Regions from separate parts of the Homo sapiens genome. Here regions 1, 2 and 3 are each linked to region 4. The links are contacts of gene promoters, found by promoter capture Hi-C in blood cells and fetal thymus (Javierre and others, 2016). All regions are on one chromosome and are shown on one strand. The core of a region is centred on a gene start or on the middle of the fragment in contact, and the rest is flanking DNA. Distances in the headings are between cores, read along the strand shown. Region 1 holds the start of ZNF777 (zinc finger protein 777). Region 2 has its middle 8.4 kb from the start of TRC-GCA11-1. Region 3 holds the start of LOC105375557 (a long non-coding RNA gene). Region 4 holds the start of ZNF425 (zinc finger protein 425).

Region 1 (3,519 bases), core at 96-2,595, 330 kb after region 4:
CCGTTCTGCGAAATGGGAGAGCCGCGTCAGCGCCGCGCCCGGGCCGGGGAAGGCTCCGCGGGGCCGAGCTCTGCGGAAAACGTGCCGGCGGCTACCCCGACGGACGCAGCGCGGGCCCCGCAGGGAGCGAGCGCGCCTCCGGGCGCCCCACCTCGGGGCCGCGTGTGTGCCGGGCCGGGCGTGAGAGCAGCCTCCCTCGCACGGACGGCGGCGAGGCCCGTAGCCCTCCCCCACCGCCCGGGTCAAGACGCGCGGGCCCCCTCCAGGGCGCCCCCACCCCCCGCGCCAACGTCGTAGCGTTTCTGCCCCTTACCGAGATCCCAGGCCGGGCCGCCGAGCCCGGGACACGCAGGCCGTCCCCGGGGCCCCGAGGCCGCGCGTCCGTGCGCGCGCGGGCCGCCCTCACAGGAGCCGGGGCCGCCTCGGCCATGGCCCTGCGCTGTCCGGCCCGGGCCCCCGGAGTCGCCGCCGCTACTGCCGCCGCCGCTACTGCGCGCGGCCCCACGCAGGCCCGGCCGCCCGGCGCTCTCCGCAGGCGGCGCCGGCCCAGCCCTGTCTTCCCCGCCGGGGCTCGCGCGCGGCCGTCGGGCCCCGGCCTGCTCGGGGCGCGCGGGGCGAGCGGGCGCGGGGTCGCGGAGCCCGAGCGGCGGCGTCGGAGCTGGGCGCGCGGCTGTGCGGGCGGCCCGGCCGGCTGCGTCCCGGCGGCGAGCTGGGCCCCGGCCCTCAACGGCGGCCCCCGGCCCGCGCGCCGCCCCTCTGCGGCCGCGGCTGGGACCCCAGCTCCGGCCCCGGCCCCGGCTGCGAGCTGCGCTGCCGTCCCGGCGCCTCTTTAGCAGGGGAGCTGCACAGCAGCTGCCATGTTGCTACAAACTGCATCCTGGGAGGCATGTCCCTCTCAGGCCGTTTAAAGAGAAACACTCCGAGGCTCGTCGGAGGCTGCCGGAACCCAGACAGCTCCATCTACAGCCGGTAGGAGCGAACAGTGTCGAGCGAGCCGCCCGGCGGCGACGGACACGCCCTGAGCCCGGGCCAGCCCGTCGTGGAGCCCGGGCCGAACCGCCGGGGCCTCCCACCCTCCAGGACCCTCCGGCCTCTCACCTGGGGTCCTCGCCTGCCCAGGCACCCTCGGGCGAGGCCGGGAGGCGCGCGGGCGGAGGCGCAGTCGGAGCGCGCAGCCCAGGCGACGTGCTGGGGTCTGGAGGCGGCTTGATTGGCTCCGACAGCCTTCCTCCCGCCGATCCCCTGCGCCTCTCACACCCAGAACCCGGGGTCGTTCCCTTTCAAAACCTGCGCTCACAAAGGGATCTAAGAAACCCGTCACACCAGAGAAAGCCCGGAGTTCATGTGACCAGCTCAGTGCAGCCCGGGTTCCAGGGACGCGGGCTGTGCTTCCAAGGGGAGCCAGGGGGTTGGGTGCTTTTGTGAAATGCCCGAGTGTTGTTTTCGACATGAAAGGACCGAATTCCTAGAATCAGACCCTGCTGGGGCTGGAAGTGGCCAGACGGGTCATTTAGGAGGAAACTGAGGCCGAGTGGGCAGCGACTTGTTTACCCTCAGTCACAGTATGAATGAATGCTCTTTGTAACCATGAGAAGTCCCAAAAGAAATGCAGGAGCTTAGAGTTGAGAACTCCCCTTCCTGGACAGGTCCACTTAAACATGTATTAATTGAATACCTACGAGGTGGCGAGAACTGGGGATGAATTGAAAAGGAAAAAAAAAGAAGAAACTATAGGCAGGCGTCCTGGTTACTAGCGATGAAGCCCAACTGGAACTAACTTAAGTGAGGGAAGACGGCGGGGGGGAGCAGAGGACATTGTGTTTACCTAATGGAACCCCAGGAGTGGAGCTGGTCTTGGAAGGCAACAGGACTCAGTATGCTGGCAGCTCAGATAATGGAAAGTTATGGCCAGACGTGGTGGCTCATGCCTGTAATCCCAGCACTTTGGGAGGCTGAGGTGGGCAGATCACGAGGTCAAGAGATCGAGACCAACCTGGCTAACGTGATGAAACCCTGTCTCTACTAAAAATACCAAAATTAGCTGGACGTGGTGGCGCGGCCCTGTAGTCCCAGCTACTTGGGAGGCTGAGGCAGGAGAATCTCTTGAACCCGGGAGGCAGAGGTTGCAGTGAGCCGAGATCGCCCCACTGCACTCCAGCCTAGGGGACAGATCAAGACTCCGTCTCAAAAAACAAAAAAAAGGAAAGTTACAGATAGAGGTAAGGCCAGAGCTATGCATCCTGTCCCCTCCCTTCCCGGAGGCTAGAGTTCTCACCCAGGTCTTTATGCATTAACTAACATGTGTGCATTCGTAAACAATGCACACTACTGGTTTTGGTATTTTTACATTTTATGTGAATGATATTATCCAGTCCCTATCCTGTTGCAACTTGCTTTTTTCCATGGGTCATTTTGTTTTTGAGATACAGACATGTTTAAACAAGAATATCTGGTTCATTCATTTTACCCACAATATAGTATTTCATTGAATACATAAACTACAGTTTACGTTCCATTCCCCCTAGAGGAATGAGAACAAACCTGCTGCCAGCGACATCTGCATGCATGTCTCATTGTGCACTGCTAAAGTGCGTCTCTAGAGACGCCTAGACATGGGACTCTGGATGGCAAGAGCACCTTCATCTTTCCCCGGCTTCCCGAACTGCTCACTGAAGGGATGGTGCCTACTTACACACCCACTATCGTGTGATTTTCTCTTTCCCCATCCTGGCTCATACTTACTGATAATGGACTCAGAACGTTTGCCGACATGATGACTGTGAAATGGTAGCTCATTATTTTAATTTGTATTTGTATTTCCCTGATTAATGAAGTTGGACATCTTTTCATGTTTACTGACATTTGGTTTCTTCCTCTGTGAATTTCCTCTTCATATCATTTGCCAATGTTTCTGTTGTGAGATCTTTTTCTTATTGGCTTATAGGTATTTCATTAAAAATCTATTCTGGATCTTAATCATATCACCAAACATTTAATGTGATTACTAATACGATTGCATTTAAATCTACCATCTTACTAGTTATTTTCTGTGTGTTCCAGGTGTTCAGTGATACCTCTCTCTCTCTCTCTCTCTCTCCCCAACTGCCTGCTTTGAGGTTGAGGTTTTTTTTTTTAATTCTATTTTTATATTAGTATTCTATTTCTTAGTAATTTCTATTTTTCACCATTCTCTTACTAGTTACATATAATTTTAAATGGTTGTCCTCAGTTTTACAATATACATCTTTAATTTTCTAACAGTCTACATAAATTATGCCACTTCACATATGGTGTGATAACCTTACAACAGGTTATCCCTACCATCTTTTATACTGTTGTTAGCATACATTTTATGTTTATGTATATAATCTCCACAATACCTTGTTAGATGGGCAGATGGCAAATATCTTCTCCCAGCCTGTCTTTTAACATGTTTCATGGTAAGTGTTGCACAAACATTAAAATTATTTAAAGTATTATTTATATGCAGTGTAATGCACAGATTTCAAGTTTATGGCT
Region 2 (3,515 bases), core at 56-2,555, 300 kb after region 4:
AAAAGTGCAGCCTATCATGAGAGAGCGCCTCCAGGTCCACCTCCGCATGGGACAAACACAGCGAGCGGCCAGGAGCTGGGCCTCAGCCTTGGTTTCCTCATCTGCACAACGAGAAAAGTGGGTAGAATGCAGGCTGCCCGGGAAGAAGCTTGAGCAACCCTAAAGCTCGGGGTCAATTCACGGAGTCCCCTCTCCTTCTGGGACCCAAGGCCCTCCGGGTCTTCTGTGCTGTTTTGTGCCGTGGGTTGAGCCTTCGAGGTGGGGTAGGTCTCATATTTCCTGTGCTCTCAGATTCCTGCGGCCGCACCTTTGTTTGCACTAACTGTGTTTGCACCAACTGTGTTTGCACGGGGATTTGCTGGGGCCTTGGCCGGCAGGCCAGTGTGTGCAAGAAAAGCAACCTGACAGCGGCTCCTGCTAACCAGGGCTGGTTCGGGGCTGCGGCCGGGCGGCTCCCGCACTGCGACTAAGGGCCAGCCGGCTGGCAGGCGGGGCTGGGGCTCGGATGTCGGGACTAGCGGGTCTCTGGCGCGAGGCGGCCGCCACCACCGAGAAGGCCGCGCGCATTCCTAGAGCGGCCGCCAGCGGCCAGGTGAGGGCGCCGCGGCCTCCGGGGCCTCCTCGCCTCTGGCCGGCAGGGGGCAGCGCGCGGCCCCGCGCGGCCCGACGTGGCGCTGGCCCGGGAGGCAGCCCGTGGGCCGCCGGCGCGCCCTGCCGGGCACCCAGCAGCGCGCTCCCGTTCTCATCAGACGGGAGAAAAAACGCCCAGGCAGAGGAACGTCTAAAAGTCAAGTCATCAAAATTAATGTAATCGAGAAAATGTGCATATTTAAAATATGGATAGAGACGCATAAATACATCTTTAAAATAAAAATATAATCGTTTGTGTTAAGTCCTTGCTCCATTGGCTCTCAGCTGCACTCACAGCACCAGTGAGACCGACACGGTTGTGCCCCATCCCACAGGCGCCAAATGGAGGGCGCAGGGTTTTAGGAGCTCGCGTAGGGCCTCTCGGGCGGCAGCAATGGAGCCGCGAGGCCGGCGGGGAGACCGAGGACGGGACCCGCTGAGCTCTGGGTGAGCTGGGGGGACTCGAGGGGACCTGGATGGGCCAGAGGCCTGGCTTGGGGAAGGGCCCCTTCCCGGTTCCCCAAGGTCCCGGTGTGCCGCTGCCGTAGGGAAGCAGGAAGGCACGGCCGCGCCAGGCGACCTGAACGAGAGGAAGCCCGGGGTCGCCGCCCGCGGGCGCGGCTGGTGTTCATACCCAGCCAGGAAGGGCGGGCGGGCCTCGGGTGCCACGCGGCGTGCCCGGCGCTTTCCCCGCAGTCCCGCTTGCTGCCCGTCCCTGGACTCCTTATCAGGCAGCTGGGTGACCTTGCTGCAAAGGGCAGGGCCGTGGAGCAGGATTTCTGCCGCACACCAGCCACCTGCAACGGTGGTAAGAGGATTTGGCAGTGATCCGGGTACTCTACCTAATATTGGGGCTGAAATATCAGAAGGAATGATAAAATCCATTTTTAAGTGATAGCGTTTAAAGGTGTTGGATCAGGTTTAATGAAGAAAATCATCTCCATCCCAGCTGGGCAGAGATTTGGGATTGTACCCGTGTTTCTTCCCGCACATTGTCACCTGTGGCTTGTTCATCCGTTCATTTCGCGTGCACTGAGGACCTCTGAGGACCTTGCGCCAGACTCTGGAGCAAGCGCGAAATGAACAAAAGCCGGCCCTGCCCTTGGGAAAAATCAAACACACAATGGCCGCTGAGTGCACGCTCCGAGCACGCGCCAAGCCCTGGAAAGCCCGGTAGAGGGGACCCTCCAACCTCCCGCAGTGATGCGTGTGTGGCCAGGGGTCTTGCTAGGCTGCACCTTGCACCTGAATCTCCCGTTGCCTTCACCGTGGAAGCGTTTGCTGTAAAAATAACATGGGGGTTGGGGCGGGGGAGACGTCTTTGTAGCTTTCTCACAGGGCTTAAGACATCTGTCCTGCTATCTTCCCCGGCCTTCCAGGGATTCTCAGTGGATGTTAGCTCTCTGGATTTCACTGGCAAGGTTATAGAGACTTACCATTTTCTGATATGAACATCTGCCAAGTAACGCATAGAGAATAGGAAAGCATGCATATCCCACAAGGAAAAAAAATAAAACTAAGAAACTGTTCTATCAAAGAATTAAGTAAGCATGGAGTGTGTCACTGGATAAATTAAACATACAGAGTTTGGATTGAGGCTAGGAAAGGTTGAAGCAAGAGAAAAGGAGCCCTGGTGACTTGCCCAGGGCAGAGGTTTTTGAAGTGAGCTTCCTCCTTGGAGACCCCTCAGCGCAGGGGGAGTTTGGGAAGACGGGGGCGCCAGAGCAGGTAGGCTTGGCTCCCTCTCCAGCCTCTTAAGGCACGAGTTATTTTACATATTTAGCTTCTGAAAATTGTTTTATTTAAACAAGGGATTCCGGAGGCTACAAACGAAAGCTTGAAAACACTGACAGATGAAGTGCAAAAAATTTGGCTGACCATTATAAATTTGATAAAGATTTCATGTCCTGAATCTGAAAGAGATTCTAAAATATATTACAGATTTAGTTCTACAGAGAAGGGATGAACTCTTCCAAGTAATTTCACAGGTGGAGATGGTTAGAAGTCCTCATACTGGGTGGTTAAAATTGATTTCTTCCATAGTTATGGAAAAGACTTGATACCTTCTCTTGGAGAAATAAGGGACTCATTCAATTGTAAGTTTTTATTGTTTAGAACATAGAAATTCCTTCTACAACCAGAAAAAAACGCTATTTTCATTTGGGGGCAAAGAATTTTAAATAAGATTCTGGAATTCTGTTATGTGATTACTACATACTAATAAGAGTTCATCTTTTTGGTAAAATGAACACCCAAGCATGTTTGTATGCAATTAACGTTTGTTTCAAGACTCTGAAGAGCTGGCAACAATTTGGGCAAGGAAAATGTGTCTATTTCTCTCAATTTGTCTACTGTATGAATTAAACACACCAGAGACTGGCTTAAATTGGTCTGAATATTGACTTGCTTTTTTAGCAGCACTCTGAAACATTTGAGGTTTTTTTTTTTTCCCAAACTTATTTCAGAATGCATCACTGGATAAATTGGCTTGGTAAGGCATTGATTAATTCAAGACACAGTAAGGAACCACTGGGTTAAAGTGGGAAAGAAATAATACAAATTTTAGTTGGACAGTCATTATTATTAAATTGTTCAGGGGGTAACTATGGGAACCAACTTAGTGTCTTTACTTTTTGACAAAATTAATGTGATTTATAGTGATGACTATCATCCAAATCGAAAAATATATACAGAATTTTTTTTAAGAGACAGATTCTCACTATGTTGCTCAGGGTGGTCTCAAACTCCTGGGCTCAAGCGATCCTCCTCCTTAGACCTCCCGAAGTGCTGGGATTACAGGTGTGAACCACCACACCTAGCAGAAATTTTTTTGTATACGCCAGACGCGGTGGTTCACACCTATAATCCCAGCACTTTGGGAGGCC
Region 3 (3,209 bases), core at 394-2,893, 500 kb before region 4:
ATTTTAAAATAATTTAATAAAAACCATTTTATTAAAATATTTTATTGTGGTAAGAACACCTAACGTGAGCTCTACCCTCTTAACAAATGTTTTAAGTGCATTACGCATTATTGTTGACTAGAAGAAAACTCTGTTTTTGAAATAATAAAGGAAATAAATTGTTAGAAATACCCAAGAGGAAGATTCTGAGAGTGAATCCTGAAAACACTGTCATTTTGTAACTCCGGCTCTCCATCTGGGTCTGCAGAGTTTTAAAATGCATTCCCCACAAAAGCCTGAGGGCTGAATGAGAAGCTACTTCTCCAAAAGCCTGTATCCCTCAACAAACAAGCTCGCCCCTGTGGCAAAGCACACCCTCTGGTTTTACTGCTTACGCAGAGCCGTTGCTTAATTGACAGATGGTGCCGCTGTGAAAATACAGCCATGTGGGAGAGAAATAAATCAATAAGAAAGAAGACTGAAACACTCTCTCCAGATTCTTTTTTATTCTAGTGAATGTGAATCAGGATTTTCTAATAAAAATCAAGTTAAAAAAATTTATGGCAGGTGTGCTACATATTGAGCGGTTTCAGGACAATATCAGAACTGGCTGTGGCTACAATGAAAAACATTTTACAGGCTGTTTGTAAAAGCTGGTCACCCCCCAGCCTGGCCAACACAGTGAAACCCTGTCTCTACCAAAAAAATACAAAAATTAGCCAGGCTTGGTGGTGCGCAGCCTGTAATCCCAGCTACTCAGGAGGCTGAGGCAGGAGAATCACTTGAACCTGGGAGGTGGAGGTTGCAGTGAGCCGAGATGGCACCACTGCACTCCAGCCTGGGTGACAAAGTGAGTCTCTGTTTCAAAAAAAAAAAAAAATGCTGGTCACCTCGATCTTTATCGCAATGAAGAAAAGACAACACATGTTTTAACAGCCTTCATCCCCCTAATTAGCTTATTTTTTTAGCATGCAGTTAATTTGAAAACTTTATTTAAACGTAAATTGAGTGGATCAGTGTGGAAAGGTAAGTCGATACACAGCAGATTAAAGATAACAAAAAGAAACAAGTGACCTATATTTTCAGAACTTTTCCAGAATGATCGTTTGTTTTGTTTGATCAGTGCTAGAGAAAGAAGTGGCTGGAAGTTGGCAAAAGAACAAGTGGGAAACTGTAAAACGGCCTGTCTGAAATCTGTTCTTTTTTGTGGTTATTTGGGCCAGGCTGACTCCTCATTGCCAGCACTTCTCACATCAAGCACCCGGTCCACCACAAATATGCACATCTCGTCACATGCCGGTGACATTACATGCCCTCCAGTGGGTAAGCTTTCTTCACTTTGTCTAAATCTTTTGGAATTACAGCAACCAATTGACTGGATGTGATGGTTTCTATAATTTTTCATCTAGTGACTGAGAAAAAAAAAACCCTGACGTTTGAAAAGAGCCACTTTAAAAAGTTGTAAACAAGCATGAAGAGGCTTTCCTGGGTCATTAGCTGATTTTTATTTTGCAAAATGCATTCCCTGGAGACTTTCTAAGAAACTACTGTGCTTAATACCAAACTCATAAAAAGCTAGAAATTAGCTTTAATTGTTTAAAAATGGCCATCAATCATCTAAAGCCAGGATTGCTGTAATTTATGAAAATATCTTTATAAAGTATTTAAGATATTGTGGAATAATATATAGTTATAGATACACTAAGCTCAACAGTACCAACAGGCTAGCTCCAAATTTCCCCCAAAAGCTAAAGTTTTCCCTTTTTTGTACAGGAAGTTGGAAAAAAAAAAAACGAAAAATAGAGCTTTATTTTACTGAGAGGCAAGCAAGATTTTACTTACTATTTTTTTCTTCTGGAATATTCCATTTAATATTGGCGAAATGCATATTTCATAACAAAAGGAGAAACAAAAGAAAATTGTCATGAAAACAATGCCTACATGAAGTTAAAATGCTGCCGTCTAAAACACTATGTACCTGTTTATTCCCTCTCATAATGCAAGCTTTATTTCAGGAAAACCACACTCAGCTCCATCTCTCTGTGCCTAGGAGGGCTGGGTTGTCAATGTCAGGGAGGAGAAGAAAACCCAAGACAGGTTGAGCTGAGGTCAGGTACTTGGAGACGCCAAAGCCTGGTACAAAGTAGAAAAGCAGATTTAAGGATGGTCTGAGGTCAGAAAATGAGTCAAGAGCCAGATACACCAAGTTCAAACCAGGACAAGCCAAAAACCAGAGGCTTCGTGACAAATCTAAGAACAAATGAGACAGGGATATATGAATCGGCAAGTTAAACGAGACTAAGAAGCACATCAAATGGGTGTAGCTAAATCTACACAGACACTTTGTTCAGTGGCAGGACCTCTTCCTCCACCAGCAGGCTTTCACCAGTCTTAAAGGAGCAGTATTCTGAAAATATTATGGAAGGGACCAAAACAACTAATATAAGATGAAGACTTGGTTATGCAAAAATGCACCACCACTACAATCCCCAAAAGGAAGGTCTACAAGGAGCACACAAGCTAAAGATTGCCATTGCTATTGTTAGAACAATAAATTATATGTGACTATTATTTAGCACCCTTGAACACACAAAATAAGACTGATGTAACATTTAGCCCATAAAGTATTCATTCAAAATATTTATTGAGTACTTACAGCCAGGCACTGTGCTGAAAGCTGGGGATAAAAAGTTAAGCAGAATGTAGTCTGTGCTCTCAAGAAATTCACAGAGAAAGAGAAAAGAAGCGATTCCAATACAGTGTAATAAGTACACTGCAAGGGGTAAATCATGGGGTGTAAAGATAGAAGGATGATGACAGCTTCCCAAGGACAGGAAATCTAAGCTGAGAACTGAAGGAGTGACGCAGGACAGCTGGCGGGAGAACTTCTCTCCTTTATGTTTAATTACTGTCCAGAGCCATGGAGAATTTAGAGATAACACAAAAAAGACAATTAAATGAATGAAGGCCTCAAAAATATGACCATCTGCAGGGAGTGAAAGCAGTAGCATGGTCTGATCTTGAGTACTGTTAAAAGTAGAATTTTCAAAATGTTAAAACAACACATATACATAAGAGCATATGTCAAGGTTATTTTCAGCTCGCTAATGAGGGAACAAACAGAATGACAAAATGATTCAAAGGCAGATGCAAGAAACGAATGTACATATTTCCCATCAAAGAGAAGGCTAGAATAAAATTATTAAATACTAAAACTCATCATTGTTCTA
Region 4 (3,409 bases), core at 1-2,500:
AGAGGAGAGAAAAAAAGAAAGCCTGGCTGTAGAAACAAAGCTTGGAGAAATCAGAAAAGAATCTGTACCTGCCAAAGGAGGGTGGGGAAAAGGAGTGGGAAGCAAAAGGGAAGAATCAAATGCAAATAAGGAGCATTACATTCCTAAGATTATAAAATTTCATTGGGGGCACAAGAAAAACTTGCACACTTAAGCAAGTTATACTTAACTGAATGTAACAGGGTTTCTTGGATTAAGCCTCAGGATACGCCTTTCAAACTCTAAAACCGGTGCTCAAATTTTCAATACTACATTACAATACTACAGCATTTACGGTAAATTCGATTTACGCTAACCACCCAATTCATTTTAAGTTTTCTGTCCTTTCCTAGAGGGAGCGGTCTCCAATTTCTCTCAGTTCCAGCTTTCCTTCTCCTTTTTCTCATCTGCTTAACACTGATGTGCTTCTCTGAAACTACCTTCAGCAGGAGAGCACGGGCCCCAGAGAGACCCCGAGGTTCAGAGCCCCGACACTGAAGGCAGGGACAGCGTTGTTGATCTGAGCCTACAACAGGCCGAGAAACAGATCTTTCCCACCCGGATTCTTTCTCCCAAACCAACTTTTATTTATGTATTAAACAGACGGGGTCTGGCTGTTGCCCAGGCTGGAGGGCAGTGGCTATTCACAGGCGCGATCCCACTAACGATCAGCACTGGGGTTTTGCCCTGCTCGGTTTCCGAGCTGGGCCGGTTCCCCCTCCCTGGGGAACCTGGTGGTCCCCGCTCCCGAGAGGTCACCACACAGATGCAGAACTCAGAGGCACCGCGCGACGGACCTAGCGCATATACAGCGCAGAGCTCCCGGGCTCAAGCGCTGCTCCCGCCTCAGCCTTCCGAGTGGCCGGGGCCACAGACGCGCGCGGCCAAGCCCGGCCAGACCAGCTTTTCCCCAGGTCAATTCCAGAACAGCACACGCAGCAAGACTGCACCTTCTCCAGCCCAGCCCGGAGCTCAGTCCGTGGGCCACTGCCAACCCCCAGGCCCAGGCCCCGGCCGCCCCACTCCCTGGACGCGGACCCCAATCCAGCTGCGACAGGGACCCGAGTTTCGACAGAGCCTGCATCCTCCACCGGCCCTTCTTACCGAAGCCGGCTCGGCCATGGCGGTTCCGCACGAACCGGCCCTGCCTGGCACGGCCTCCCCTCCGCTCCGCCCCAACCCAACTCCCAGGTACAGCCCTGCTGGCCCCCAAAGGCAGAGCCGGCCGGGCGCGGTGCATGCTGGGACTCGGCGCTCGGAAGCGGAAGCCGCTCCGCCCCATAGCGCCCCCTGCGGGCGGGAGGAGCGGCGCCGCCAGAGGGAGTCGGTCCTCAGAGGAGGGGCCCGGGCACCCTCCGTGCGGGCCGCAGCACGCCGGTCTTTGAGGGACCCTTGGACTCCCGGATCTGCATGCGAGGGATGCGGTCGAAGACGAGATGAGGGAGCTGACGGGAGGGGAAACGGAGGGGCAGGTGAACATGGAGAGAGCAGGAACAGGGAGAGAGTAGGGACAGCGACTGGGAGACGCGCTCCACAGAAACCCGGACTGAGAGGCAGCGAGAGGGTGAGAGTCCGGTGCTGTTCCTTCCAAAGCTGCCCCCAAGTCAGGGATGAGCTCGAGGGTTTCGTTTGTGAGGGGGTCCCGGGAATCCAGCGAGGCCGGGTAGGTGGTGGGGGGCGCGCGGTGGCCCGGGGTGTCCGTCCCGCCGGGGGCGCGGAGGCCGTGTGGGCCCCGGGCATGTCCCGTCGGGGACGCGGAGGAGGGGTCCGCCCACCACGTCCGGTCCCCGTGGGTGCAGCGCCCTTCTGGGCTCCCCGAGCGTCCACACTCCCTCCTTGGCAGAGAAAGGCCTCGGGCAGAGACCCCATGCGGAAGCCACCCCGGCCTCGGGGCCGCCTGCGGGGACTCAGGGTCGCCCAGGGATGCGGGCCGGGCACCCCTAGCCCCCGGCGGGAGACTGTGACAGAGCGGGAGAAGACGGAGGAGGCCATGACACAGGGCGTGAGAAACACGAAGACGCAAAAACGGGAGAGGTGGGAAGACGCAGAAGGGGAAACCAGGGAGAGACAGAAAGGAGAGAGAGGGCAAGGAAGGGGGTGGCGACTGTCCCCAGAAAATCAACCTCGCATTCTGTCCTAGTCATGTTTTAGGTGTCAGGCTAAAGTAACAAATGAAAAGTGTGTAGTTAGAAAGGATGTCCATGAGAAAGTAGTCCCTGCATAGGCTGAGGAGCGTGTGCACATCTGTATTTGTCCCGGAATCGTGAAATGTAGATGCACCTTACTGATTAAAGGGTTAAAAAAAAAAAACCTTACATTAAAACTAACGTTTCGGATGGGCGCGGTGCCTCACGCCTGTAATCCCAGCACTTTGGGAGGCGGAGGCGGGCGGATCACGAGGTCAGGAGAGCGAGACCATCCTGGCTAACGGCGAAACCCCGTCTCTACTAAAAATACAAAAAAAAAAAAAAAAAAAATAGCCGAGCGTTGTGGCGGGCGCCTGTAGTCCCAGCTCCTAGGGAGGCTGAGTCGGGAGAGTGGCGTGAACCCGGGAGGCGGAGCTTGCAGTGAGCCGAGATCGCGCCACTGCACTCCAGCCTGGGCGACAGAGGGAGACTCCATCTCAAAAAAACCAAAAACAAACAAACAAAAAAACTAACGTTTCTTTGGGTGTAAAGTTCTATGAATTTTCACATATGTATGTATACGTGTAGTAACCACTGTAACCAGGATACGGAAGAGCCCTGTCCCACCCTGAAACTCCTTGTGCTGCCATTCTCTTCTGTGCTTCATTTGCTTTATGGTCACTCCCTCCGACACCTGGATCCTTGGCAAGGACTGATCTGCTCTTGAAACCTAGTTTTCTCTTTTTAGAAATGGTATATAAATGGAATCATACAGTATGATATAACCTTTTGTGACTGGCTCCTCAAAAGCGTAATGCTTTTGTGATTCATCCATGTTTACGAAGAGTCAAACTGTAAAATATTTAGAAGTTTATTCTGAGCCAAATATGAGTGAGGAAGGCCAAGGTACTGTCTGAAGAGGTCCTAAGAACATGTATCCAAGGTGGTTGGGTTACAGCTTGATTTTACACGTTTTGGGAAGACTTAAGACATCAGTCAATACATGTAAAGTGTACACTGGTTCTGTCAGGAAAGGCGGGACAACTCCAAGCGGTGCTTACAGGTCACAGGCGGATTCAGCGATTTTCTGATTGGCAATTGGCTATCTGAAGACCAGGTTCATAGAAAGGAGTGTCTGGGTTAAGATAAGGGGTTGTGGAGACCAAGATTCTTAGGATGTCTCATAGTGACTGTCTTTAGATGGCAAAAATTTCCTATTTAAACCTTTAAAAGGTGCTAGATTCTCTGGCCGGGCGCAGTAGCTC

Evidence for each region. Contacts are between HindIII fragments. The CHiCAGO score rates a contact against its expected background, and 5 or more counts as called.
Region 1: a contact is called between the fragment with the promoter of ZNF777 here and the fragment with the promoter of ZNF425 in region 4, in 2 of 17 cell types (neutrophils and naive CD8 T cells). The highest score is 6.3, in neutrophils.
Region 2: a contact is called between a fragment that was not itself captured here and the fragment with the promoter of ZNF425 in region 4, in 3 of 17 cell types (non-activated CD4 T cells, naive CD8 T cells and fetal thymus). The highest score is 5.5, in non-activated CD4 T cells.
Region 3: a fragment that was not itself captured here is called in contact with the fragment with the promoter of ZNF425 in region 4 in 1 of 17 cell types (activated CD4 T cells); the score reaches 6.1 in activated CD4 T cells.

The regions. Positions count from the first base shown.
Region 1 is chr7:149,459,717-149,463,235 of GRCh38, forward strand. It overlaps ZNF777 (zinc finger protein 777), which reads right to left and starts at 1,346. Exons shown (of 6, transcript NM_015694.3): 1 at 1,099-1,346. RefSeq lists silencers at 7-366, 377-456, 747-816, 987-1,326. The HindIII fragment of the contact is 6,109 bases long and covers 1-3,519 here.
Region 2 is chr7:149,421,875-149,425,389 of GRCh38, forward strand. No RefSeq gene overlaps it. Among named protein-coding and RNA genes, the nearest start is that of TRC-GCA11-1, 8.4 kb to the left of the region's middle. RefSeq lists an enhancer at 1-413 and a silencer at 545-794. The HindIII fragment of the contact is 2,318 bases long and covers 147-2,464 here.
Region 3 is chr7:148,622,724-148,625,932 of GRCh38, forward strand. It overlaps LOC105375557 (a long non-coding RNA gene), which reads right to left and starts at 2,717. Exons shown (of 3, transcript XR_001745397.2): 1 at 2,636-2,717; 2 at 1,958-2,112; 3 at 1,617-1,833. The HindIII fragment of the contact is 676 bases long and covers 1,306-1,981 here.
Region 4 is chr7:149,125,074-149,128,482 of GRCh38, forward strand. ZNF425 (zinc finger protein 425) reads right to left here and starts at 1,251. Exons shown (of 4, transcript NM_001001661.3): 1 at 1,123-1,251. The coding sequence starts at 1,140. It also overlaps the pseudogene RN7SL521P and a transcript of ZNF398 not described here. RefSeq lists enhancers at 1-166, 414-965, 966-1,517, 2,181-2,230 and silencers at 676-849, 1,581-2,020. The HindIII fragment of the contact is 7,753 bases long and covers 39-3,409 here.